Regions from separate parts of the Homo sapiens genome. Here region 2 is linked to region 1. Evidence: promoter capture Hi-C in 16 types of primary human blood cells and fetal thymus (Javierre and others, 2016). All regions are on one chromosome and are shown on one strand. The core of a region is centred on a gene start or on the middle of the fragment in contact, and the rest is flanking DNA. Distances in the headings are between cores, read along the strand shown.

The links. Contacts are between HindIII fragments. The CHiCAGO score rates a contact against its expected background, and 5 or more counts as called.
Region 2: a contact is called between a fragment that was not itself captured here and the fragment with the promoter of DPYSL5 in region 1, in 4 of 17 cell types (megakaryocytes, M1 macrophages, M0 macrophages and 1 more). The highest score is 8.0, in megakaryocytes.

What each region holds. Positions count from the first base shown.
Region 1 is chr2:26,845,654-26,852,908 of GRCh38, reverse strand. DPYSL5 (dihydropyrimidinase like 5) reads right to left here and starts at 4,777. Exons shown (of 13, transcript NM_020134.4): 1 at 4,655-4,777. The HindIII fragment of the contact is 4,603 bases long and covers 2,578-7,180 here.
Region 2 is chr2:26,904,332-26,911,586 of GRCh38, reverse strand. All of the region lies in intron 2 of DPYSL5 (dihydropyrimidinase like 5), which reads right to left. Among named protein-coding and RNA genes, the nearest start is that of DPYSL5, 60 kb to the right of the region's middle. The HindIII fragment of the contact is 164 bases long and covers 2,670-2,833 here.

The sequences.
Region 1 (7,255 bases), core at 3,528-6,027:
GCTGATGGTGATGATAACTTTTACTGAGCACTTACAAGATGCCAGATGCTGCTCTCAGTGCTAACCATTAACACATGTAAGCCTCAGAACAACCCCAGATGTAGATACTGTTAAGTTGGTGCAGAAGTCACGGCAGTTTTTGTCATTAAAAGTAATGGCAAAAACAGCAATTACTTCTGCACCAACCTAATACAACCATCCTCATTGCACAGATAAACAGAAAGTGGCCAAGGTGAAATCTGAACCCAGGCTTTCTGGCTCTCCCTCCTGTACACGCTACCGCTGAGCCTGGATTGTGACGAGGGAGGAGGGAGGCGAGGGAACAAGTACAGAACAGGGCTGTGATTGATGGGAGTGCTTGGCAAGCTCGGGTTCAATCAATGGTTAAATCAGCTTATTTTAAATGAAACAAGTTTCAAAGACTGAAGTAGAACAAATCATACACCATGTTCCTCCCTGAATTTCTTTTGTTCAAGTGTATAATTTGTGCCCACTTTTATACATAAATACCAAAGCTCACAAAAGATTCATGTTATGGTATTTCAACCTTTCATCTTCACATAAAAAAAAGCAAGGCAAAGCGATTTTGAAATTATTTCTCATTTATGCACCAGCAGTGCAATGAAATCAAACACCTGCTTATTGGAAAAATGATAAAACACATTTATTCTTATTTGCTCCCATATTACACCAAGTTTTCCCTACAGGACTTCATGTTGACAAAGATATCTTGTTCTACAGGATTCCTGTGAATTAAGTCTTAGAAGACTTTTCTGGAATATGTTTTTATACCTCAGAAAACAAAAAAGATACACAAGATCAGATTCTATCAGAAACTGGTAAATTTTCACACCAGGAAGATAGACTGGGTCTCAGATACTCTTGTCCAACTTCTCTGGCTCTCAATATTTTTCTATGCCCCAAGAAAATGATCTGAACACACAATTCACATTTTTTTTTTTGAGATAGAGTCTCACTCTGTTGCCCAGGCTGGAGTGCAGTGGCACGATCTCAGCTCACTGCAACCTCGGCCTCCCAGGTTCAAGTGATTCTCCACCTCAGCCTCCTCCCAAGTAGCTGGGACTACAGGTGTGCGCCACCACGTCAGGCTAATTTTTTTGTATTTTTAGTAGAGATGGAGTTTCACCATGTTGGCCAGGCTGGTCTCGAACTCCTGACCTCAAGTGATCCTCCTGTCTCAGCCTCCCAAAGTGTTGGGATTACAGGCGTGATCCACTGTGCCTGGCCACAATTTACTTTTACCCCAGAGACCTGCCTATAGTCATGCTGTCCTTTGGCTTATAGTCCCGTGGAGCTAATGCAGGATCATACAGAATCCTGGGTCAGAGAAGCTATTAAGGGGAAATTCTCAGATAGCTATGGCAGGAGAAGAGACGTGGAAGTGCCACAAATGAAGTTTACGCCAAGTCCTGAGACCTGATTTTGGCCAACTGTGTAAACTTGCCTTGCTGTGGAACTCTTTCCAGAGATAGAAGCATTAAGAATAATGCAACAACCCTGCTAATGTTTGCACCTAGAGAGGTTACGCTGACAACAGCCAGGCCTTCACGTCAGGCTGGTCATACCGGCATTCCTTGTCTATGGATTCCCTGCCATGAGGAACAGACTGCAATGGATGTTCACAGAGTGCTTTAAGAAGATTACATCCTTTTAAAAATCCATAAAATTATTACAAAAAAGAAGCCAACAAAACACTCCTTCCTGAAATTGTTCCCTTTGGGTAATAATATGAAAACATGTTTCCCATTGGAGCTCTCTTACAAGAAAAAACCTTCACTGTCAGATTTCTAGGTTTCTAATATTGAGATTCCTAGTATTTATGTACTCTGAATCCATGTTTGTGTGTATGCATAAATACACACATGCATATATAATTTAGTAAAATATAGTATGTGTATATATATATGTGTGTATATACATATTAATATATACATATATATAATTCAGTTAAAATATAGTTAAAAACAACCAATGAGCAATGTTCCAGCTAGTCCTTCCAGATCAGTTTTGTAAATTCTGTGAGGCACCTCCTCAAAACACCATCCTTTAAAACCAGCAAGACATAGCCTACTGCTGACTCCCTATGGCCAGAAAGGACACTCAGACAAGAGGCCTTCACTTTGACAGCTATCATCTGTCCTGGGCAAAAGCCAACAGCCACAGCACAGTCCTTCACCTTACACACTAATCTTGTTAAGAAAGCAAATCCTGAGATTTCAAGGCTGGGTTAAGAGAACCAACAGGTTCTCAGTTAACTTAGTGGCAAATGTAAGTGGCATCAATGAGTTCTACAATGCCAAGTATCGCCCAGTCTGGGAACAAAAACATTCCTGCCTTTTTTTTTAATGAATGGCAATTTAAAATGATAACTTTATGCTAAAGATTCACCTTTAACTTGTCATCTAACCAGTTATCAAAGCAACAGTGCAACACAGAATTCTGGCTTTGGGTGTCACTTCACATGTCAAGGCGCTGCAGCGGTGACTTGCAAGGTGTTTAGACGGCGGGCGAGAGGCTGAGTGCGTGGAAAGCCCTGCTGAAAGCCTGTTTTAAGCTTCCATTCGGTTCATCTGCTTTCCCACGGGCAAGCAGCGCCTATCACAGAGCTACCCCAGTCTTAGGTCAGCAGACAATATGGGCGAAGTCTGCAAGAGACGCACTGGCTTGGGTGTGGTCACTGGCAAAGAAAAGCACTGGACCCCTAGCAGCGGCTCCCAAACCTAGAGCCTCACCCTTGCGGGATCATTTCCACCCGCTTCTCCGCAATTTGACCACAATCCGCACCAGCCCTTACGGCTCCCCCTGAGAAAGCACAGCTGCAGCCCCTAGACTACGGCCGCCTCGGCAGACAAAGCCGCTGCTCGGGGGAACCCGCGCTGCACCGAGGCGACCTCCAGTCTTTGGCACCTGCGTCGCCGCCCGGCAGCTCCGCGCCGCTAACCACGCCGCGTCTCGGCAGCGGGTGGACAGCGCGGGGCGGGCGGCGGCGCTGCACCAGAAGGCACCCGAGCCGGAGTGGGGGGGTGGCTGTCTGCAGGCCCCCAGGCCGGGGGAGCGCCTCCCACACGGGATTCCCGGCGTGGCCAGGCCCCCATAAAACCCCAAAGCCAGCACGTGCCCGGAGGTTCCGCAGGGAGTATTCCCAGCACCAGAAAACTGCACCCTCGCGTCCTGGGTGGCCCTGGTTTGTCGTCGGATGGACACCAGGGTCGGCTATTGTTCTCCGGGTCTCCCCGAAGGGAGATCCGCCTCCCTGGCAGCACCTGCTGCTGGGCAAAGCCTTTCAGCTCCTCGAGAAAAGGGCGTGCCGTGGGCGCCGCGGAAGATCACAAAACCCTAAGCGAGTCGCTACCGGCTGGTTTCAAGCCTGGAGACAAAGCTCCTCACCAAGCCAGCCCAGCCCGGTCCCGGATCTGCCATCCTGGGTCCCTAACCCCGGTCCGAGGGCCACGCCCAGCCGGCCACCTGGGCCGCGGGGCCCCGCGCCTGGAGCTGAGGATCCTCGGGCCCGAGACCGCCTCTCAGCTGCTTGCCCCTCCCTCCTCGGGAGGCTCCCCTTCCCAGGAGGCCCCCCTCCCCCGCACAGCGCGGGTCTTCTCCTCGCTCCCGTCCTCCCTCCTCAAACCCAGGCGGCCTCCACCCGCCTGCATCCCTCCTCCCCTCCCCATTCTTCAGCAGAACCAGCCTCGCCGGGCGCCACCTGCACCGAGCTCCTTCCCTCGTTCTTCGGACCCGCCCCCGCCCCTTCTCTTTCCTCCTCAAACCCTAGTTCCCACTCCCTGCTCCCCGAGACCCACTACCTGTCCTAACCCAGCTCCCCAGCCTTCCCCATCCCCATCTTTTCTCAACCGAGGCCTCCCCTCGCCCTCTCCCGGCTTCTCTCCAGCTCAGACTACAGCCCCGTCCCCAGGCCCGGGGCGTCGACGTCGGTGCCCGCTGAGATCGATGCTGCAAGGCGGGCTCCCGCGCTGGGCTCCAGCCGAGGGACCCGGCTCGGCGCCCGCTCCGGGCTGGGCAGCCGCAGGAGGCCTTTGTGGCTCAGGCGGGAGGCTCGGAGGCGGCGGGCGAGTCCTCTGCAGGCGTCCGCTCCGTTAGCCGGGCGGTGGAACAGACCGCCGGGTCGGGTCCAGGCTGGGCAGATCCCAGCTCGGAGGCGAGAAGGACGGAGGGTGTGTATCTGGGTGGTGTGTGGGACCGGGGACAGCGCAGATCCTGGGACCGGCAGGACTGGCCCCCGGCCAGAGGCGCCCCCGCCCAGCCCTCCAGCGGTCCACTGCACCGCGCCCGGCTAGGAAAGCGGCCCACTGCGTGCTAGGCGCGAAACCCCTCGGCCGAGCCGCCTCCTCACCCCAGGGCTTTGCAACCCCGCGAGCACGCATTAAACGCTTACTATGAGCAAGGCCCGGCACGGCGCTTCGCGGGCGTACAAAGAGGACCCCAAGAGCGCCCCGGCTTAGCCCCGATGGCCACCTCCCAACCCCAAACCACACCTCCCGCCGCGTCCCCTGCGGCCGGGCCCCAGGCTCACCCGGCTCCCCGCCCTTTTGTGCGCCTCACGCAGAAACAGAAGGGGGAGAGGAGGATGTCCTAGCCCGGGAGGGGTAAGCCCACCGACCCCCCTGCCATCACCCACTCCTCCGAGATGCTGCGGCCGCGGGGGCCCGTGGCTCGGTCCGTCTCCGTCTCGCCGCGGCGCCGGAGCTGCGGGTGCTCGGGGCGGCGGCGGCTGCACGCGCGCTCGCTCGGGGGCCGCCTCAGCGCGCCCAGCGCGGGAGTCCAGAGTGGGGAGCGGGGGAGGGGCGCGTGTCGGGGGCTGGGAGCGGCCTCCGCCAATCACCGCGCGGCCGGCTCCTCCCGCCGCTCCCCACCTCAGCTAGCAGGTTAAGGGGAGGCGGGGACAGGCGGCGTCCCGCATCCTTGGCGCCGCGCGCCGCCGCCGCCTGGGGACTACAACTCCCGGCAGGCCCTGCTGCAGGGCCGGGGTCCGAGAGCGGACGGAGGGCGCGGCCGGAGAACTCACCGACCCCCCTAGCACCCGGCTCCGCGTTCCCTCGGGTTTCCATGGCGACTCAGGACACCACAAAGCCTGGACGCGCTGAGGCACGGGTCCCCAGGGAGGGCCGGGGGCGGTTCCGGAGGACACCCCGCCTCCCCTCCCCCAGCTGGATCCCACCCCAGGGGCTGAAACAATGCCGCGGCCGCCTCTCCCGGGCTGCGGCCGCGCTGCCCTCCGCCGCAGGACCCCGCCGAGGCCGCCTGGTTCGCGCCAAGACCCGCTCCGACGCCCGCGGGATTGCGGGATGCAAAGGGCCGGGTGGGCGTTATAGGAAAACTGTTCTCATGAACAAAGTGGACGGCCACTTGGGGCCACCGCAGTTCGCATCTGCACCCGGGGAGGTCTCGAACCCGGAGTGCGTTCTCTCCACTGAGAAGATTTTGCCCAGCGCCACGCGGGTGCTTCCCTGTCCAGAGCGCTCAGGCCCAGTGCCTGTCTTATTTCTGGCTTCTGTCAAGGGACAGCGAAGCCTTTGGAAATTATTTATAACCCAATTTACATTCGCTTCACCTGTTTCTTCATGTTTAAATACATACATAATTTACCAAAATAAACAAATCTAAAAAAGGAGAGGAAGGATCATCCCCGGTTTGTCCCACCTCCCTAGCTAATCCCGGTTCAAGCCTTTGCCATTGATCTGTGTTATTTTCTGCAGTTGTAATAATAGTTTGGATTAGTCATTTGCCTCTTTGCACTTAATGTCACTCCAAAGGCGTTGCGATGCGCGTTAAAATGCAGCATCAAGGACCTCCAAGCTGCAGCTGCAGAATCCCTCCCTCCCCGGGCTCCCCGGCGATCCGGTGGGGAGAGGAGTCCCCTGGCAGCCATGGCCTCGTGAGGTGGTTCTCTTTGCAGGATACTTTCAAACAAAATGGTGTTCACTACTCCGGGGGCGTGGAGGGGGTCCCCTCTCCCCATCTCAGCAAAATCTACCCGGGCGCAGGACCCGCAGAGCCCGCCAAGGCGGGGTTCCCTGCCGTCCTTCCCCAGAGAGCTTAGGGCCTGGACCAGGCCAGGCTGGCCTTTGAGGGATGCATTTCTGGATTACCCCACCCCTGAGTCTGCACTCCTTCTCCCCTTCCCAACTCCCGCCTGCTTGGTAAGCAGAGAGCAGGGAGCCCCCAGAGGAACCTCAAAGCATCCCTAACCCAGTGCAGCCCGGGATGTGGCTGTGAAAACTGCTCCAGCTTGGGGCACTGCCCTATGGATTCTCCAGGGCTTGCCCGGACAGGGATGTAGGCAAAATGGACTGGGCTTCAGGGAGGTGGCGTGGAGCTGCCAGCGGCCTCCCGGCGGCGGGGTTCCGAGACTACCGCGCGCGGGCGGTGCTGCGCTTTTTGCTTAAGGGAGAGAGAGCCCTCTAGTGACTGTAAATGTTTTCTGCAGCGTCTCGTAGACCTTAAATTTGGATTCTAGCATCTTAGCTTTCTTGGGCTACCTTCCCTAGTCAGCGAAACGGCTGCCTCTACGTCATCTGTCAGTTTAGGATATTGATAAAGGTTGCACCCAAACCGGGGGTTGCATATGTCCTCAGTCCTCGACTTCGGTTTGTTGTTGCTAACTTAGGCTCCGTTTCCTGGGAAGTAGAAAGAGCACAGAGCTGGGAGTCCCGCATTGCTGGGTTGGAATCCTTGCTCCTTCAGTTTCTGCCGACTTGACCTTGAGAAAGTGACTTACTCCATCTGACCCTTAGCTCCACCCAGAATACTGGGGTCATATACATTCTTTTAACCTTGTCGTGGAAATTAAATGAAGAAAGGTAGATAAAGGCCATAGCACATTGCCTGGCATAGTGTGCATGCAACAAATGCAGCTATTATTATTTATCCCACAGAAAGTGGTTATTGAACAGTGTGAGGGATATAAGAATATGTGACACTCCCCACAGTAACAGCCACAAAAGGCAATATGTTGTGATTTTTATTATAAAGCTCATATTACTACTCGGTCAGATAAAGTAGAATAAGAATTCAGACGAGAAAGAAAGCAGTTCTGCATAACACTGGGAGATGGAGGAGCTAGAATTTGGATTTCACCTGGATATTGATTTGATGGACAGTTCTAAGCAAAGGTCTGAGATTCTGGGGTGAAGGAGCAAAAGCTTATGGGTGGGGAACCCAAGCGGGTATTTGGAAGACAGCAGAAGAACCCACCATGTCTTGAAAGTCAAGTCCCTGA
Region 2 (7,255 bases), core at 1,502-4,001, 61 kb before region 1:
GTCATTGTAATTTACTTTAAATTAGACATGGATGATACGAAGACAATATATTTACATCAATATTTATAATCATGTCATAGATTTTTCCCTCCAAATAACTTGAGAAAATTTTAAAGAAAATTCCTGACTTTTAGCCAACAGAAAGGGACCATGTTAAGGACTGAGAATGTTGATCAAGTGCTTGGTTAATGCATTCGTTTCTCTATGTTTTTGATTTGCAGCCTGCACTAAACTATTTGCTTCCAAGGACATAAAATAGTCATACAACTTTGAAAAAGAACAGAGTTGGAAGACATACACTGCCCGCTTTCAAGACTTACTGTAAAGTTACAATAATTAAGAGACTGTGGTATTGGTGTAAAAATAGACAAACAGATCAAAAGAAGAGAAGAGTCCACAAATAGGCTGGCACATGTATGGTCAATTGATTTTTGACAAGGGATAATCTTTTCAACAAATGGCTCTGGAACAATTGGATAGCCATTTGCAAAAAAAAAAAAAAAAAAACTGAACATAGATACCACATACCATGTATAAAAATTAACTTAAAACAGATCATAGACTGAACTGTAAAAGCTAAAATTACAAACTTCTAAAAGAAAACATAGGGGAAAATCTTAGAGACCTTGGATTCTGAAAAAATTTCTTGATTATAGCACAAAAAGCATGAAGTAGAAATAAAAAAATCGATAAATTGGACTTCAAAATTAAAAACTACTGCTCTTCAAAAAACACTTAAGAAAATGAAAAAGTAAGTAACAGACTGGGAGAAAAATTTGCAAAACATATATCTAATAAATGGCTTGTAATTAGACTATATAAACAACTTTTGGGCTGGGTGTGGTGGCTCACACCTGTAATCCCAGCACTTTGGGAGGCTGGGGCGGGCAGATCAACTGAGGTCAATCATTCAGGACCAGCCTGGCCAACTGGTGAAACCCTGTCTCTACTAAAAAAAAAAAAAAAAAAAGAAGAAGAAGAAAGAAAAAAAGAAAACAACTCTTATATTCAGATTTTTAAAAGCCAACAACTTACTAAAACATGGGTAAAAGGTGTGAGCAGACACTTCACTGAAAACATATAGAAGGCATATAGGCACATGTAAAGACATTCAACACTAGTCACTAAGGAAATGCACATTGTAACCACACTGAGATACCACTACACACCTATTAGAACGGCTAAAATTAAAAAGACTGACCACAACAAGTGGTGGGAATGATATGGAGTCACTACTGATGGGGAAAAAAAAATTGTTACAACCACTTTGGAAACCAGGTGGCAATTTCTTAAAAAGCTAAATGTAGACCTACCATAAAACAGACACATTCCACTTCCGGGTAATTACCCAAGGGAAATAAAAGCCTATGTCCACACAAATATATGTATATGAATGTTCACAGTAGCTTTATCTTTAACAGCCAAAAACTTAATACTACTGAGCGAAAGAAACCAGACAAAAAAAGGAATGCATATCGCATTGCTCCATTTATATAGAAATAGTAGAAAATGCAAACTAATCTATAGTGACATAAAATAGTGGTAACCTGGGGTGAGAGCTGGGGGAAAATTACAGGAACACAAAGAAACTTTCAGGAATGGTGGATATGTTTATTATATTGTGATGGCTTCTTGATGTATGTATATGTCAAAATGTATCAAACTGTATACTTTAAAATGTGCAGCTTATCAAACATTAATTATACCTTTTTTTTTTAAAGGTGGCTTCCCAGGTTACCTAATCATGTTCTCCTCTTTCTAGACATATTCTTCCCAACAGTGGAGTTCACTAACATTTACCAATTTTTTTTTTGTTTTTAGACAGGGTCTTGTTCTGTCACTGGAGTGCAGTGGCATGATCATAGCTCACTGCAGCCTCAAACTTCTGAGCTCAAGTGAGCTCAAACTCCTCCTGCCTCAGCCTCCCTAGTAGCTAGGTCTATAGGTACACACCATCATGCTTGGCTAATTTTTGTATTTTTTGTAGAGATGGGGTTTCACTATGTTGCCTAGGCTGGTCTTAAACTCCTGGCCTCAAGTGATCCTCTTGCCTTGGCCTCCCAAAGCTTTGGGATTACAGGCGTGAGCCACCGAGCCACTGAGCCCCGCCTTGTTTAATTTTATTTTAAAATATTAATTGAGAATACTGTGGATCGTTTAAGTCTAAACAGGAAAATTATTTATGAATTAGGGGTAGTATTTATTAATCTCTAATGGTACTTCCAGCTCTAAAATTGTGTGTGTGAGAGCGAGTGTGAATGTGAGATGGTGTGTGTGATGTGTGTGCAATATGAGTGAGAAACAATGGTCAGTGAGAACGTTCTTACAGTAGTTGGCCCACAGTTTTATATTCGTTTAGTTACTAATTAAAGATCCTTATAGGGCTTCAGTTTTAGTCAACAAGAAACAAAAAAGCATCAGAAGGAGAGAAAAATGTGGCTGGCTGCAGTAATCACCCAAGGGAACAATGAGGCTGAAACTATCCAGGGGAGATGATCTGGCACCTACGCAAATTTCTACCTGTAAATGAACCAAGATATGTCCCTTATTTTCAACACAAATATGGCAACTTCAAAGGTAACCTCTGTGAGGTTTGGGAGAACAGATATTTCCAATTGAGAAAAGGCCATATTCAAATATTTCTTGAAATATTAAAAAAGATACAAGCTTAATTTAAGAAAAGAAAAAGAGGAAGAAGGGAGAAAAATGGAAGAAGACAGAAAAATGGCATTCATGTGCAATATGTATCATTGAAGTGCACATACAGTATATATTTTTCTTCTTCCTTTTTTCCTTTTATAAATTCCAGTGGATGACAGCATAAAGCAAAGCTTCTTGTACTAAGCACGAAAGATTGCCAAGACACTTGGCCTCAATCACAGAGGGTGTATTTATTTTATTCTGAATCAAAGGTTTTAAAAATGCAATAATCTGCATTGATAAATTCTTTGCAAACACTATTCTAGAAGTTGAGGAGCTGCTTGGTCACCATAGGAGGTTTTTTCCCAATACCAGAGATACAAATTTATAAGAAACGATAGATCTCCTCATTCACATCAGTTCTAAGAAGGATCAACCTGGCCTACATTTTGGCCTACCAATTAATGTACACGTAGAATGAAAGTTGCCAGCAAGGTTTTGTTAAGCAAGTAGCTGGTTTGAAGCAGGACACCTTTAAATAGCTCCTGATGCCTGCAGAGTTTATTGCTGGCTATTTCTGCCTTTAAGAGAAAGAGAGAAGACAGAAAATTATCTAGAATTTATCACTATTACTATCAGACTCTGTTTGAAATCTAAAACACACACAGAAATTCGAACGCTAGGAATGAAATCCAGTTCTTTCAGTTCCTATTTGATGCTTAACTGTTTTATATGTATGCTCGTACAAATGGATTTTTAAGGGATCTGACTTTGATCAACATGATCTATTTATTTATTTAACAAACATTCACATAATGCTTAATAAGCACCAAGTATTCTTTTAAGTTCTTTACAAATAATAACTCAATTAGCACTTTTAAAGACATACGACAATGGAGGAACAGAGAGATTAACTTGCCCACATGACATAGCAAGCAAATGTGGAGCTGAAATCCGAACTCCAGCATTCATAGCCCCAGTCTGTGCTGATAACTCCCACTCCATGCTGACATCCATTTCTTGGATGTCGACTACACCGTTAGGGCTACGCGGGCTCTGTGGCTAGTCACAAGTTAAATCGTGGTCTCTGCTCCTCAAAGGGTCTTCAATCTTGTTGAGAAACAAACTTAACATGGGAAACAATTTGAAAGCCCTAGGATGACAAGTTATTTCAGCTGGCGAGAAGAAAGTGACATCCTGGAGCTGGGTTAGCTGGAGGAGGAGTGCCACGAGAGGCTGTTCGCCTTGAAGGAGGGGCTCTGTGCAGGGGTGGAGAGAGATGGCAACAGGCAGCATGGGGTGTCCATGGAGGGCATCTTCCTGATGGATGGGTGCGTGTGGGGAGCAGCTGGCCATGATGGGTCGATGGGAGGGCAAGGTCAGATCAGGGGTTGCCCAGGGGGAAGATCCATACATCCAAACTTGATGTCTTAGACAACAGGGAGCCATTGCAGGGACACGACATCAGGCATAGAGAGAGCCGTGAGATGAAGGGGGGCCAAGGTGATTTTTTATTTTAAAAATGTAAATGTGGGCTGGGCGCAGTAGCTCATGCCTGTAATCCCAGCACTTTGGGAGGCTGAGGCTTATGGATCACTTGAGGTCAGGAGTTCGAGACTAGCCTGACCAACATGGAGAAACTCCGTCTCTACTAAAAATACAAAATTAGCTGGGCATGGTGGCGGGCGCCTGTATTCCCAGTTACTTGGGAGGCTGAGACAGGGGAATTGCTTGAACCCAGGAGGCGGAGGTTGCAGTGAGCCAAGATTGCACCACTGCACTCCAGCCTGGGTGACAGAGCAAGACTCCATCTCAAAAAAATAAAATAAATAAATAAATAAATAAAAATGTAAATGTGGAGTTTTAAAAAGGTTTAAGTAAGCTGAGCATGATGGCTGACGCCTGTAATCCTAACACTTTGGGAGGCTGAGGCAGGAGGATCGCTTGAAGCCAAGAATTCAAGACCAGCCTGGGCAACATAGCAAGATCCGGTCTCTACAAAAAATAAAAATAAAAAACTTAGCTGGGCACAGTGGCATGTGCCTGCAGTCCCAGCTACTCAGGAGGCTGAGGTGGGAGTATGGCTTGAGCCCAGGTGGTTGACGCCACAGTGAGCTATGATCATGCCACTACGCTCCAGCCTGGGTGACAGGGCCAGATTCTATCTCTAAAATAAATAAATAAATTATGATTTAGGTAGTTTAAGCAAAATAGGTGGAGTGGAGATGTACTAGGGCAAAATGTCTATAGGATAGCCATGTTTTTGCATGTGACTCCCTGTGGTAGGCAGAATTCTAAGATGACTCCCAGTGGCCCACACCCCTGTATAACTGCATCTCACTGAGTGTGGGAGGGATCTTGTGAATAAGATGGGAAAACGTACCCATGATTAGGTTATATTCCATGGCAGGAGATTATCCTCAGTGGGTCTGGGCTAATCAGGTGAGCTCATAAAGGTATGGGTTGGCCAGGCACGGTGGCTAACGCCTGTAATCCCAGCCCTTTTGGAGGCCGAGGCAGGCAGATCACGAGGTCAAGAGATAGAGACCATCCTGGCCAACATGGTGAAACCTCATCTCTACTAAGAATACAAAAATTAGCTGGGCGTGGTGGCAGGCGCCTGTACTCCCAGCTACTCAGGAGGCTGAGGCAGGAGAATCTCTTGAACCTGGGAAGTGGAGGTTGCAGTGAGCTGAGATCGTGCCACTGCAGTCCAGCCTGGTGACAGAGCAAGACTCTGTCTCAAAAAAAAAAAAAAAAGATATGGGTTTTTTTCTTGGTGAAAGAGATTCTAGTCAGAGATTTGAAACAGGAGAGAGACTTGAGGTGAGTCTGTTGCTGGCTTTGAAGATGGAAGGGGCAGGTGGCAAAGGGTGCTGGCAGCCTCCAGGCACTGAGATCCGCCCCAGGCTGACAGCCAACAAGGAAACAGGGACCTCAGTCCTTGAACTCCAAGAAATGGAATTCTGCCACAACTACACGAGCTTGGCAGAGAACCCTGGACTCCAGATGAGAATGCAGCCCATTGACACCTGGATGGCGGCTTGCGAGGCTCTGAGCCGAAGACCTAGTCATGCTGTGCCCAGATTTCTACCTACAGAACTGTGAGTTAATAAATGGGTGTTTTAAATTGCTGAACTTGAGGCAATTAGTTACACAGCAGAAAACTAATATACCCTCTACAAGCAGACTAAGTACCGATGGAGGGGGTAGAGGGATGTCCTCCAGGTGGCAGGGGAGGGGAAGTCACTTCATGAAGCCTTCACAGGGCTCTTTACAGCCTACAGGTGAGTCACAGAAGAAAGTGGAGAGAGGAGCCCAGCTATGCCAATCCCAGCCCCCACAGCTAGGCCGGAGGGGTGGTAGGGCAGCAGGAAGAACGAGCATGGAAAACGAGCTGGGAGGTGAGGGCCGATTCCCAGAGAAGGCCTGCCAGGGTGCCTGCTGGCCAAGCCCAGGGACACAGGTAGCATGGGCACTCGGTGCACAGTGGAGCAATTTCATTGTGAAGCCAAAGTCGGTGGATCTTTTCTCAAGGAACTGGAAGAAAAGAGCCTGGGGTGGAAGCAGGTAGTCCCAGCCTGGGGACTAGCATTTATTGTATATGTATTCTGTGACAGGGACTATGTGAAGCATTTGTCATGCATCATCTCATCTAATCCTTACAAACACCATTTATACATAGTAAAAACTGTTTAGCTCTAAGGCGCTGACATCAGTTATTCCTGCAGGGAGGAGCAGCATTTCATAAAGCTACTGTCTTGGGCAGGCAGAGACCTCGCTCAGCTGCCTGCCTGATGCAAATCCATTCTGAGACACCCTCATCTGGTCCAGCAAAATTTGGGGCCACAGAATAGCAAGAGAAATATTTGCATACAGCCAACCAAGAGGCCACAGGCTGAAAGGGGTGATTGTTCAGTCCCGAGGTCTCAGGAGGCCTTGAACAGGGTGGTGAAAGGCTGAGAAACCTGCCTTCTGGTCCAACTGGCCCTGGGATGTGGGCTACTCATGCAACCTCAAACTCCTGTTTTTGTTTTTGTTTTGAGACAGGGTCTCACTCTGTCACCCAGGCTGGGGTGCAGTGGTGCAATCACAGCTCACTGCAGCCTCAACTTTCCTGGGCTCAGATGATCCTCCCCACTCAGCCTACTGAGTAGCTGGGACTACAAGCGTACACCACCACGCCTGGCTAATTTTTGTATTTTTTGTAGAGATGGGGTTTTGCCATGTTGCCCAGGCTGCTCTCAAACTCCTGGGCTCAAGTGATCTTCCCCGCTTGGCCTCCCAAAGTGCTGGGATTAGTGGCATGAGCCACAGCGCCTGGCACGTTCATGCATCCTCTCTGGGTCTCCTATCAATGGGTGGGTGGGACTAGATGATTTCTAAGGTGTCACCCAACTTCTCGCAGGGATGGAGAGATAAGAAAACTTGAGAATATCAATGAATAAGCAAGACCATATGAGTCTGGATCCCCATGAGCAGGAAGTGTCATTGCAGAGCTTAAAGACGGGAAAGAAATTTTGGCCAGAATTTACCAGAAACAGAATACTGGAGTTGAAGAAAAAGAAGAAAGGAAGTGAGCCACATTTATAGGCTTCATTCCACGAGAGCGCAT